Regions from separate parts of the Homo sapiens genome. Here region 1 is linked to region 2. Evidence: promoter capture Hi-C in 16 types of primary human blood cells and fetal thymus (Javierre and others, 2016). All regions are on one chromosome and are shown on one strand. Each heading gives the region's core, a stretch centred on a gene start or on the middle of the fragment in contact. The rest is flanking DNA. Distances are from core to core; before and after follow the strand shown. Region 1 overlaps ZNF564 (zinc finger protein 564). Region 2 holds the start of ZNF441 (zinc finger protein 441).

Region 1 (5,814 bases), core at 382-2,881, 760 kb before region 2:
GCCTGTGTAGGTAAGGATGACATCATTCCTTCTTTTAGTCAGTTAGAGAAGAAGTATTTCTTGCTTTTTAATGCTTTTTCATGATGTCTAATGTGGAAAAGGGAATACTTGGGTGAATAAATCAGGGTTGTTTGCACCTTATCATGAACTTAGAATCTAGTCATTTTTCTGTAATGTCTATCAGTTCATAAGGATTTTTTCTGACTATATTTTAGGAAAAAAATGGGAAGACCAGAGCATTGAAGATTGGTACAAAAATCAGGGGAGAATTTTAAGGTAATTTGCACTGACAAGATAAAGCAATGTCTCCTTCTTAGTATGTCATGAAATTTTAAAAATAAGTAAACAAACCAGTAAGCCCAGCTTCAGATTTATTTATTCCTACAACTTTTTCACCAGAAAAAGAAAAAGTGGCATAGATGTTCAGTGTTGCAAAATCATTCACTTGGAAATAGTATTAAGAAACTGTATATATGGATATCACTTTTTTGGTGATAGCTACTGTCAAGCTCTCTTGCAGAGCATTCCATCCATTCACTTTCAAACAATTCATACAGGCCTGAAAACTTACCCTTTCCGCGATTATGGTAAAAATGTAAGTCGAATACCTATTAATAAATATAAAGTCACAAACCACTAAATCTTGCTTTCTATTTTTTCCAGAAATCATATGGAAGAGGGACTCAGTGAAAGTAAAGAATATGATCAATGTGGAGAAGCCTTCAGTCAGATTCTCAATCTTAATCTGAACAAGAAAATTCCTACTATAGTAAGACCATGTGAATGTAGTTTGTGTGGGAAAGTCTTCATGCATCATTCATCCCTTAGTAGGCACATCAGATCTCACCTTGGACACAAACCATATGACTATCAGGAATATGGAGAGAAACCATATAAATGTAAGCAGTGTGGGAAAGCCTTCAGTTCTTGTCAATCCTTTCGAAGACATGAAAGAACTCACACTGGTGAGAAACCCTATGCATGTCCGGAATGTGGGAAAGCCTTCATTTCTCTCCCAAGTGTTCGAAGACACATGATTAAGCACACTGGAGATGGACCATATAAATGTCAGGAATGTGGGAAAGCCTTTGATCGCCCAAGTTTATTTCAGATACATGAAAGAACTCACACTGGAGAGAAACCCTATGAATGTCAGGAATGTGCAAAAGCTTTCATTTCTCTTCCAAGTTTTCAAAGACACATGATTAGGCACACTGGAGATGGACCTTATAAATGTCAGGAATGTGGAAAAGCCTTTGACCGCCCCAGTTTATTTCGAATACATGAAAGAACTCATACTGGAGAGAAACCCCATGAATGTAAACAGTGTGGGAAGGCCTTCATTTCTTTCACAAATTTTCAAAGTCATATGATTAGGCACACTGGGGATGGACCTTATAAATGTAAAGTATGTGGGAGAGCCTTTATTTTTCCCAGTTATGTTCGAAAGCATGAAAGAACTCATACTGGGGAGAAACCCTATGAATGTAATAAATGTGGTAAAACCTTCAGTTCTTCCAGTAATGTTCGAACACATGAAAGGACTCACACTGGAGAGAAGCCCTATGAATGTAAGGAATGCGGGAAAGCCTTCATTTCTCTCCCAAGTGTCCGAAGACACATGATAAAGCACACTGGAGATGGACCTTATAAATGTCAGGTATGTGGTAGAGCCTTTGACTGTCCCAGTTCATTTCAAATACACGAAAGAACTCACACTGGAGAGAAACCCTATGAATGTCAGGTATGTGGGAAAGCCTTCATTTCTCTTAAAAGGATTAGAAAACATATGATACTGCACACTGGAGATGGACCTTATAAATGTCAGGTATGTGGTAAAGCCTTTGACTGTCCTAGTTCTGTCCGAACACATGAAAGAACTCATACTGGAGAAAAACCCTATGAATGTAAAGAATGTGGGAAAGCATTCAATTATGCCAGTTCCATTAGAATACATGAAAGAACTCATACCGGAGAAAAACCCTATGAATGTAAGCAATGTGGAAAAACGTTCAGTTATTCCAGTTCCTTTCAAAGACATGAAAGAGCTCATAATGGAGATAAACCTTACGTAAAGAATGTGGGAAAGCTTTCATTTATCACACAACCTTCGAATACCTGTGAAAATGAATAGTGGAGGACAGGTCTACAAGTATCTACATATCTAAAGAATATGGAAAGTCTTCAGTTTGCTTTCTGGGTTTCAGACTTGTTTGGGAGCTCACCCCTTTCTCCTGTTTCTCACTTTTGGAATAGGAATCTCTATCCTGTGCCTGTCTCATATTTTGGAAATACATGACTAGTTTGGTTTTCACCGGTTCGGAGCTGAAGAAGAATTTTGCCTCAGCATGAATTGAGTCTCATCCATATCTGAGTGATGTGATATTGAGATGACACTTTGGAGTTTGAGTTTAAACATTAGGCTTCATGCTGGAATTAACTGAGACTTTTGAGGCCTTTGGGATGAGATGAATATATTTTACATGTGATGACATGGATTTTGGGGGCCAGAGGTGTAATGTTTTGGCTGAGTGTATGCCACCTCAGATTCATATGTTGAAACCTTACCCCCGTGCCCCCCCTCTCCCCCACAATGTGATGGTATTTGGAGGCCCTGTCTCTGGTGGTTTTTAGGATTGGAGGACATCATGAAGATGGAGGCCTTGTAATTGGGATTAGTTTCCTGATAGGAATCCCTAGAGAGCTAGCTTTGCCCTTCACCATGAGAGGGTGCAGTGAGAAGATAGCTATCTTTGAACCGGGAAGCAGGCCCTTACCAGACATGGACTATGCCAGTGCCTTGATATTGGACTTCCCAGCCTCCCAAACCATGAGAAATAAATGTTTGTTGATTAATTAAGCTTTCCAATTTATGGTATTTTGTTTTAGCAACCCAAGCTAAGACACAATCCAATTTTAAAATGGAGGAAAGGACTTGAATAGACATTTCTCCAAAGAAGATACCCAGATGGCCAATAAGCACGTAACAATGCTCGACATCTTTAGTCATTAGGGAAATACAAATCAAACTCAAGACATACATAGCATCTCATTAGGATTAGTAGTATCAAAGATGGAAAACAAGAAATACTGTCAAGGATGTGGAATGTTGGAGAACATTGTGCACTATCACTGGGAATGTACAGTGGTATAAGCCTGCTGAAAACAGTATGGCAGATCCCCAGATTAAAATATAGAAATAACATATGATCAGCATTTCCATTTCTGGGAAAATAAAAAGATTGAAAGCAGGGCCGGGCGTGGTGGATCACGCTTGTAATCCCAGCACTTTGGGAGGCCGAAGCAGGCGGATCACAAGGTCAGGAGATTGAGACCATCCTGGCTAACATGATGAAACCCCGTCTCTACTAAAAAAAAATTAGCCGGGCGTGGTGGCAGGCGCCTGTAGTCCCAACTGCTCGGGAGGCTGAGGCAGGAGAATGGCATGAACCCGGGAGGCAGAGCTTGCAGTGAGCTGAGGTCGCGCCACTGCACTCCAGCCTGGGTGAGAGAGCAAGACTCCGTCTCAAAAAACAAAACAAAACAAAAAAGATTGAAAGCAAAGTCTCAAATAGGTTTTGTACACCTGTGTACATAGCATCATTCACAATAGGTAAACTCTGGAAACTACTCAGGTTTTCATCAACAGATGAATAAACAAAAGGAAGTTTATACATACAAGAGAATATTACTGAGTCTTACAAAGTAAGGAAATTTACAAATATGCTGCAAGATGAACCTTGACGTGCTAAGTGAAATGGGCCATTCATGTAAAGACAATACGGTATGATTCTACTTATATCAGGTATCTAGAGTAGTCATATTGATAGAAAAAGTACAATACCATTTGCCAAAGGTTAGGGAAATTGGGTAATGGATAGTTATTTCATGGGCATAGAGTTTCAATTTTGCAAGATAAAAAGGGTTCCAGAGGTGGATGGTGGTGATGGTTGCACACTAGTATGAATGTTCTTAATGGCACTGAACTGTACACTTAAAATTGATTATGATGGTGAATTTTATGTATGTTTTACACACAAAAAAGGGAGAAAAGACCACAGTACTGCATAGACCTTGTGGGACCTTCAGCATACCAAGACACTCTAGGTCTCTCTTTTTTTTTTTTGAGATAGGGTCTTGCTCTGTCGCCCAAGCTGGAGTGCAGTGGTGAGATCTTGGCTCACTGCACCCTCTGCCTCCCAGATTCAAAGGCTTCTCATGCTTCAGCCTCTTGAGTAGCTGGGATTACAGGTGCGCACCACCACACCCAGCTAATTTTTGTATTTTTAGTAGAAACGGGATTTCGCCATGTTGGCCAGGCTGGTCTTGAACTCCTGATCTCAAGTGATCTGTCCGCCTCGGCCTCCGATAGTGCTGGGGTTACAGGCGTGAGCCACTGCGCCTAGTCTCTAGGTCTCTTTCCTACTTGTTCTCAGCACTGTTTTTTTCGTTTTTCTATCCATGAGGGACCTGTTCCTACACAGTCCATTTGGATTTTAGTAGGCATTTAGATTTGATCCCCAGGATTGACTTCCCTGTCTCCTCCCCCCTTCACTGTAGACCTGGACCTCACTCCCAGACCCAGGGCCTATGATAACCACTTCCCTTTATTGAAGAGGGATACTTTTAATTTCCTCTGCACACTATTCACAGACATGTATATCAAATATATATCTGATAATTTAAGCAAATAGAAATTCTTTGCTCGGAAATCTTTAAGAATATGAGAAGAAATAGCAGCATATAGTGTCCAGAAAAGGTGGGAGAGAACTTCTTAGGTATGGAAAGTTTATGTAATAGGTAATGTGTAACTATTTACCACTAATTCTGTACCTGGGGTAAAGGTGGTGTTCAAGAAATGGAGAGCCAGGCCTGGTGTGGTGGCTTATGTCTGTAATCCCAGCACTTTGGGAGTCCGAGGCAGGCAGATCACTTAAGGCCAGGAGTTCGAGACCAGCCTCGCCAACACAGCGAAACCCTATTTCCACTAAAAACAGAAAAATTAGCTGGGTGTGGTGGTGCACACCTGTAATCCCAGCTACTTGGGAGGCTGAGGCAAGATAATTGCTTGAACCTGGGAGGCAGAGGTTACAGTGAGCTGAGATCACGCCACTGCACTCCAGCCTAGGTGACAGAGCCAGACTCCATCTCAAAAAAAAAAAAAAAAAAAAGCAGTGGATAAATAAGTCACTGCTTGCACAATAAAGAAATAAATGGGCCAGGCACAGTGGCTCATGTCTGTAATCCAGCACTTTGGGAGGGTAAGGCGGATGGATCACGAGGTCAGGAGTTTGAGACCAGCCTGGCCATCATGGTGAAACCCCAACTCTACTAAAAATACGAAAAATTAGCCATGCATGGTGGCTGACGCCTGTAATCCCAGCTACTCAGGAGGCTGAGGCAGGAGAATTGCTTGAACCCAGCAGGCGGAGGTTGCAGTGAGCCAAGATTGCACCACTGCACTCTAGCCTGGGCGACAGAGTGGGACCCCATCGCAAAAAAAAAAAAAAAAACAAAAAACAACTCTGCAAGGAAATGAAGCAAGTGATCCCTCTTGGAGTGGATTTCATGAAGTACCTTTAAATGGCAGAACATCAGGTTTCCATTTCCAAAATTATTTTTCTTCATGCTCTGACTGAAATAGTGACTGGTGTTGGAGAAACGGGTGGAAGATAGCGTAATAAACCAAATTGTTCTTTCTAGTGGGGAAAGCATGAATCACCCAAAACTAATAATCACGGAATTTACTTACATGGTATGGAAGAATAAGCAACCATAGAAGAAATCAGAATAGTTGTCACAGAACTAATTTAC
Region 2 (5,708 bases), core at 54-2,553:
CTATGTATAAACAAAATGACAATTAAAATACTAGCCTCTGTTTGAAAAATAAACTGGGGGACAAGGAGTTCATAAAGTTGCTGTGAATTGAGGAGAGAAAGCCTGAGGAAGGCTCTGGAAGCCAAGGGATTTTCTGTCGGCCCTAGGAGGAGTTAGGATGAGAGAACACAGTGGTGGACTTGAGACCCTGCTGCCCACATCTTTGGAAGACTCGAAGGCGAACGGGTCACCCTTGGGAAGAAAGAAGGGACAGGGGACCACACAGACCACAACTCCTCCCACACACAAACCCCACACACGAGTCTGCCTGGTGACCTGTCATCACCGTGCAGCCTCCTCACCGGGTTCACAGAACTGCGAGCCAGGCTGGAGGCGAGATTGCAGTTAGATATTAACCAGGTGCCCTCAGCCCCGCTGCCTCGCGGGGCCGCCTCCCCAAGAGTCAGGCCACAGCAGATGCTGACCGCCGGCTTCGCCATTGTGCTTGGGGATGAGATCTCTGAGAGTTGCTCAAGAGTCGCCTGAGTTCTTTCTCAGATCCTGAATTCCAGCGGAAAGGCTGGCGCCAACCAGGCTGAAGACCCCACAAGGGAACCCACTCAGCAGAAGAATGCGGTTTCTTCACCTCCAGTCCCAAGAGTCACCCCTCACTTCCCCACCATCCAGCGACCCCACGCCCCAGCCGCCCCTGTCCACACCCCTAAACACCCCATCCCCAAACCTCTCAGGAAGGCGGATCTGGGGTGTCCTCCCCTCTCCCCCTATTAAACTGTTTCTGCTGCAGCCCTCGGCGTCTCGGTGCAGTGACTCGGGCCGCGAACCTGTGCCGGTTACAGCCGCACAATCTGGGGAGACGCAGGACTGCGGGCGCGGAGCTGCCCAGACAGGCCTCCAGGGCCAGGGCCGCAGTGGCCGCGCAGGGACGGGACAGGACGCCCGGGGTCCCGGCTGCCGCCCCAGCCCCATCGTGCGGCCGAGGGAACCGAGGGCCGAGCTGCGCCAGGGTGTCGCCGGCGGGGAAGACCTGGTGCCACCACAGCCGGTTCCGGCCGGTTCCAACCAGTCTCTCCTCTCACGCGTCGGGACACCAGACCTCACACACTCACCATTTCCCGGCTTCCGGCGTCCAGGTTCCTCCCTCTGCCTCCCGCTGTCAGTGCGGGTCCCAGCGAGACAGAAGCTGCCACAGACGTTCCAGGGCGTCTCTCAGTGACAGAACCCGGAGCCCAGTGCAGGGGCGTGGAGAAGACTCGGCGGGCTCTTTGAACCTTGCACCCTCCTCCGGTCAGTGCGCCTGATTGACAGTTCTCACGACCCCGCCCCGCGGCCCTGATTGGATAGTGCGCCAGGTCCCTCCCCCGGGCACTGAGTAACGGAAGAAGCGATCTCGGGCAGCGGAGTGGAACCTGATAAACAGATTCCAGACAGGCCTTGAGAGGACTAGCTTCCTCCCTGCGCTGTGACCTGACCCCCTCCCAGGGGACATTTGCATTTAGGCAGTATGTCCTGACCTTCCTCCTTTTTCCTCTTGGACAGGGACCCACAAGTCTGTGCAGGAAATTCCAGACTCACTGTCCAGTGGAGCTATCCCCTGATTTGAGAGCAGGAAGGGAGCCCAGGCCACACTGCAGCAGAAGGGAGGGGCTGATGTCCTCCAGGAATCAGGAGTTTTGGATGAGGCTGTTGGCTGCACAGGCCAAGCCTTTCTCCCACCTTATGTCTCAATCTACTAATTTTCAGTGCAGAATATAAAAACACCCCAACAAAGCCGGGCGTGGTGGCTCACACCTGTAATCCCAGCACTTTGGGAGGCTGAGGCAGGTGGATCACCTGAGGTCAGAAATTCGAGACCAGTCTGGCCAACATGGTGAAATCCCGTCTCTAAAATACAAAGATTAGCCGGATGTGGTGGCGCACGCCTGTAGTCCCAGCTACTCAGGAGGCTGAGACAGAGGAATCACTTGAACCTGGAAGGCAGAGGCTGCAGTGAGAGAGTGGGCGAGACAGAGGGAGACTCCGTCTCAAAAAAAAAAAAAAAGAAAAAAGAAAAAAGAAATAAATAAAATTGTTAAATGTGTGGAAAAACTGGAATTATATGGCGGCAATATTTTATAAAGCAAAAACTTGAACTAGCTCAGATAAGCAGCCTGCTGCATCCACACACAGTTCACAAGTCAACCACTTTCAGGAGGCCAAACATATTCCAAAGCTTGGAGGCCAGACGATAATTCCTGAAATGGAGCCCTAGGGTGGATCAGAACCTGGGGATGAGTCAGGGGCACTAATGGATTTAACTCTGGGAGTTCAATTTGCCCTCCTGTCTCCTAAACACAGCGTGGAAATGCTCCTTCCATCAAGCCTATAAATGTTATTGAATTAAATGCTTCAATCAAAGGCTGAGACATTAGACTTTGAATTTGAAAACATTCATCTTCATATTTTTATGAAGAATACCAGATATAAAAGCATTATGAGGCCAGGCACCGTGGCTCATGCCTGCAATCCCACCACTTTGGGAGGCTGAGGTGGGTGGATTGCTTGAGCTCAGGAGCTCAAGACCGGCCTGGGCAATGTGGTGAAACCCCCATCTCTATTTAAAAACAAACAAAAAAAAAGCGTTATTAACTGGGAGCTGGCACCCATGGTGATACGAAGAAAAAGAGGTTTAATTGACTCACAGTTCAGCATGGCTGGGGAGGCCTCACAATCATGGTGGAAGGCAAAGGAGGAGCAAAAGCAAATGTTACATGGCGGCAGGCAAGAGAGCGTGTGCAGGGGAACTGCCCTTTATAAAGCCATCGGATCTCATGAGACTTACTCACCCAAATCTCATTTTGAATTGCAGCTCCCATAATCCCCACATGTCATGGGAGTGATCCAGTGGGAGGTAATTGAATCATGGAGGCGGTTTTCCCATGCTGTTCTCGTGATAGTGAATAAGTCTCATGAAATCTGATGGCTTTATAAAGGGCAGTTTCCCTGTACATGCTCTCTTGCCTGCCGCCATGTAACATTTGCCTTTGCTCCTCCTTAGCCTTCCACCAACACCTGACCAAATGGATATGACATCTACAGAACTTTCCACCCAAAACCAACAGATTATACATTCTTCTCCTCACCACATGGCACATACTCTAAAATCAGTAACATAATCAGACATAAAATAACCCTCAGCAAATTAAAAAAACAAGCAAACAAAATCATACCAACTGCACTCTCAGACCACAGTGCAATAAAAATAGAAATCAAGACTAAGAAAATCTCCCCAAACCATACAATTATATCAAAATTAAATGACCTGGTTCAGAATGACTTCTGAGTAAATAATGAAATTAACACCAAAATCAAGAAATTCTTGGAAACTGAGAAGAAAGATACAACATACCAGAATCTCTGGGGCACAGCTAAAGAAGTGTTAAGATGGAAATTTATAGCACTAACTGCCCAAATCAAAAAGAAAGATCTGAAATTAATAACCCAATATCACAACTAGAAGAACTAGAGAAGCAAGAGCAAACCAATCCCAAAGCTAGCAGAAGACAAGAAATGACCAAAATCAGAGCTAAAATGACCAAAATCAGAGCTAAACTGAAGGAAATTGAGATACAAAAAAAAAAAAAAACATACAAAAGATTAGCAAATGCAAGACTTAGTTCTTGGAAAAAAATAACTTAAAAAGTCCCAAATAGTCAAGGCAATCCTAAGCAAAAAGAACAAAGCTGGAGGCATCATGCTACCAGACTTCAAACTATATACTACAGGGCTACAGTAAGGTATTTTTACAAAAACTGACACATTACCAATGGAACAGAATAGAGAGCCTAGAAATAATGCTGCTCACCTTCAACCATCTGATCTTTCACAAAGCTGACAAAAACAAGCAGTGGGGAAGGACTCATCAATGGTGCTGGGATAACTGGCTAGCCATATGCAAAAGATTGAAACTGAACCCCTTTCTTAAACCATATACAAAAATCAACTCAAGATGGATTAAAGACACTTTTCAAAAGAAGACATGCATGTAATCAACAAGCAAATGAAAAAAAAAATGCCCAATATCACTAATCATTAGAGAAATGCACATCAAAACCACAATGAGATACCATTTCACACCAGTTAGAATGGCCATTAATAAAAAGTCAAAAAATAACAGATGCTGGGAAGGTTGTGGAGAAAAGGGAATGCTTATACTCTGCTGGTGGGAGTTTAAGTTAGTTCAACCATTATGGAAAGCAGCGTGGTGATTCCTCAAAGCACTAAAAACTGAATTACCGTTTGACCCAGCAATCCAATACCCATTTACTGGGGTATTGGATCCACATACCCAAAGGAATATGGATCATTCTACCATAAAGACACATGCACACCTATGTTCATTGCAGCACTACTCACAATAGCAAATATATGAAATCAACCTAAATGCCTGTTAACAGTAGACTGAATAAAGCACATTTGGCACATATACACCAAGAAATACTATGCAGCCATAAAAAAGAACAAGATCATGCCTTTGCAGAAACATGGATGGAGATGGAGGCTATTATCCTTAACAAACTAACACAGGAACAGAAAACCAAATATCACATATTCTCACTTAATAAGTGGGAGTTACATAATGGGAACATGTGAACACAAAGAAGGGAACAACAGACGCTGAGGCATACTTAAGGGTGGGAGGAAGAAAAGGATAAGAAAAAATAACTATCAAGTATCATGCTTAGTACCTGGGTGATGAAATAATCTATACACCAAACTCCCATGACACAAGTTTGTCTATATAAAAAAACTGCATATGTACCCTGGAACCTAAAATAAAGGTTAAAACTAGACATTTGAATATTATAATAAGAGTAACTCTGTAAATCAAATTCTCCCCCTTCTTTTTTATGCGATTTATGTTCGCTGAAGGCTGTAATTGCTTATTTGTTTGGTAATCTTGTTTATTTCAGAAGTGTATTTATAGAGACTGTATTCCCTGTCCAGTGTAGTCACTGAGGTCTCTGTCCCTTTAGCTTATATTCACCCAGTGTTCTGACAATGCCAGAAACTGAAAGAAAAAGAGAAAATGAAACAAGCAAAAAATTGACCTCTGTCAGTCTCTGTGGATGGATCTGAGCTGGAGAATTCCTCGAATCCTTAGCCCAGCTGCTTAAAGCTCTGCTTCACCCTTCTCTTTCTGTTTAACCAAGCCTCAAGATCTGCCACATCTGAAAACGATGGTCTTGGGTCTTTTGTGAAAATGTGTTTTTCTGTCGTTTGACTGCATGGGGCTTAATTCCTCAGTATACCCTGGTGCTTTTTTTTTTTTTCTTCTTCCAGGTCTCAGGAAACTACCTCCTATAACTGGGTGCTTTATTTTATTTTAAATAAGTAATTAATTAATTTTATTTATTTATTTATTTATTTATTTATTTATTTATTTATTTATATGGGGTCTTGCTCTGTTACCCAGGCTGGAGTGCAGTGGCACAATTATAGCTCACTACAGCCTCGAACTCCTGGGCTCAAGTGATCCTTCTGCATCTGCTTCCCAAATAGCTGAGCCTACAGGGACATGCCACCATGGCTAATTTGGGAGCTTTTGAATATCCCAAGTTCTGAGGGAAATTTTCTCTCCAGCTTTTCTTCCTGGCCATTAGCTGGTCAGTGTATGTCTTAATCATAATCTATAGTCCAATGTGGTTGCAGGCTTTTTATGTTTTTCGTAA

The links. The method cuts DNA at HindIII sites, captures the fragments that hold promoters and counts their contacts. A CHiCAGO score of 5 or more calls a contact.
Region 1: a fragment that was not itself captured here is called in contact with the fragment with the promoter of ZNF441 in region 2 in 5 of 17 cell types (naive CD8 T cells, activated CD4 T cells, M2 macrophages and 2 more); the score reaches 7.8 in naive CD8 T cells.

The regions. Positions count from the first base shown.
Region 1 is chr19:12,522,766-12,528,579 of GRCh38, reverse strand. ZNF564 (zinc finger protein 564) reads left to right here. Exons shown (of 4, transcript NM_144976.4): 2 at 1-10; 3 at 216-276; 4 at 664-3,207. The coding sequence ends at 2,134. Among named protein-coding and RNA genes, the nearest start is that of ZNF564, 26 kb to the left of the region's middle. The HindIII fragment of the contact is 920 bases long and covers 1,172-2,091 here.
Region 2 is chr19:11,762,595-11,768,302 of GRCh38, reverse strand. ZNF441 (zinc finger protein 441) reads right to left here and starts at 1,303. Exons shown (of 4, transcript NM_152355.3): 1 at 1,107-1,303. The coding sequence starts at 1,109. RefSeq lists silencers at 273-382, 833-972 and an enhancer at 1,043-1,142. The HindIII fragment of the contact is 9,985 bases long and covers 1-2,211 here.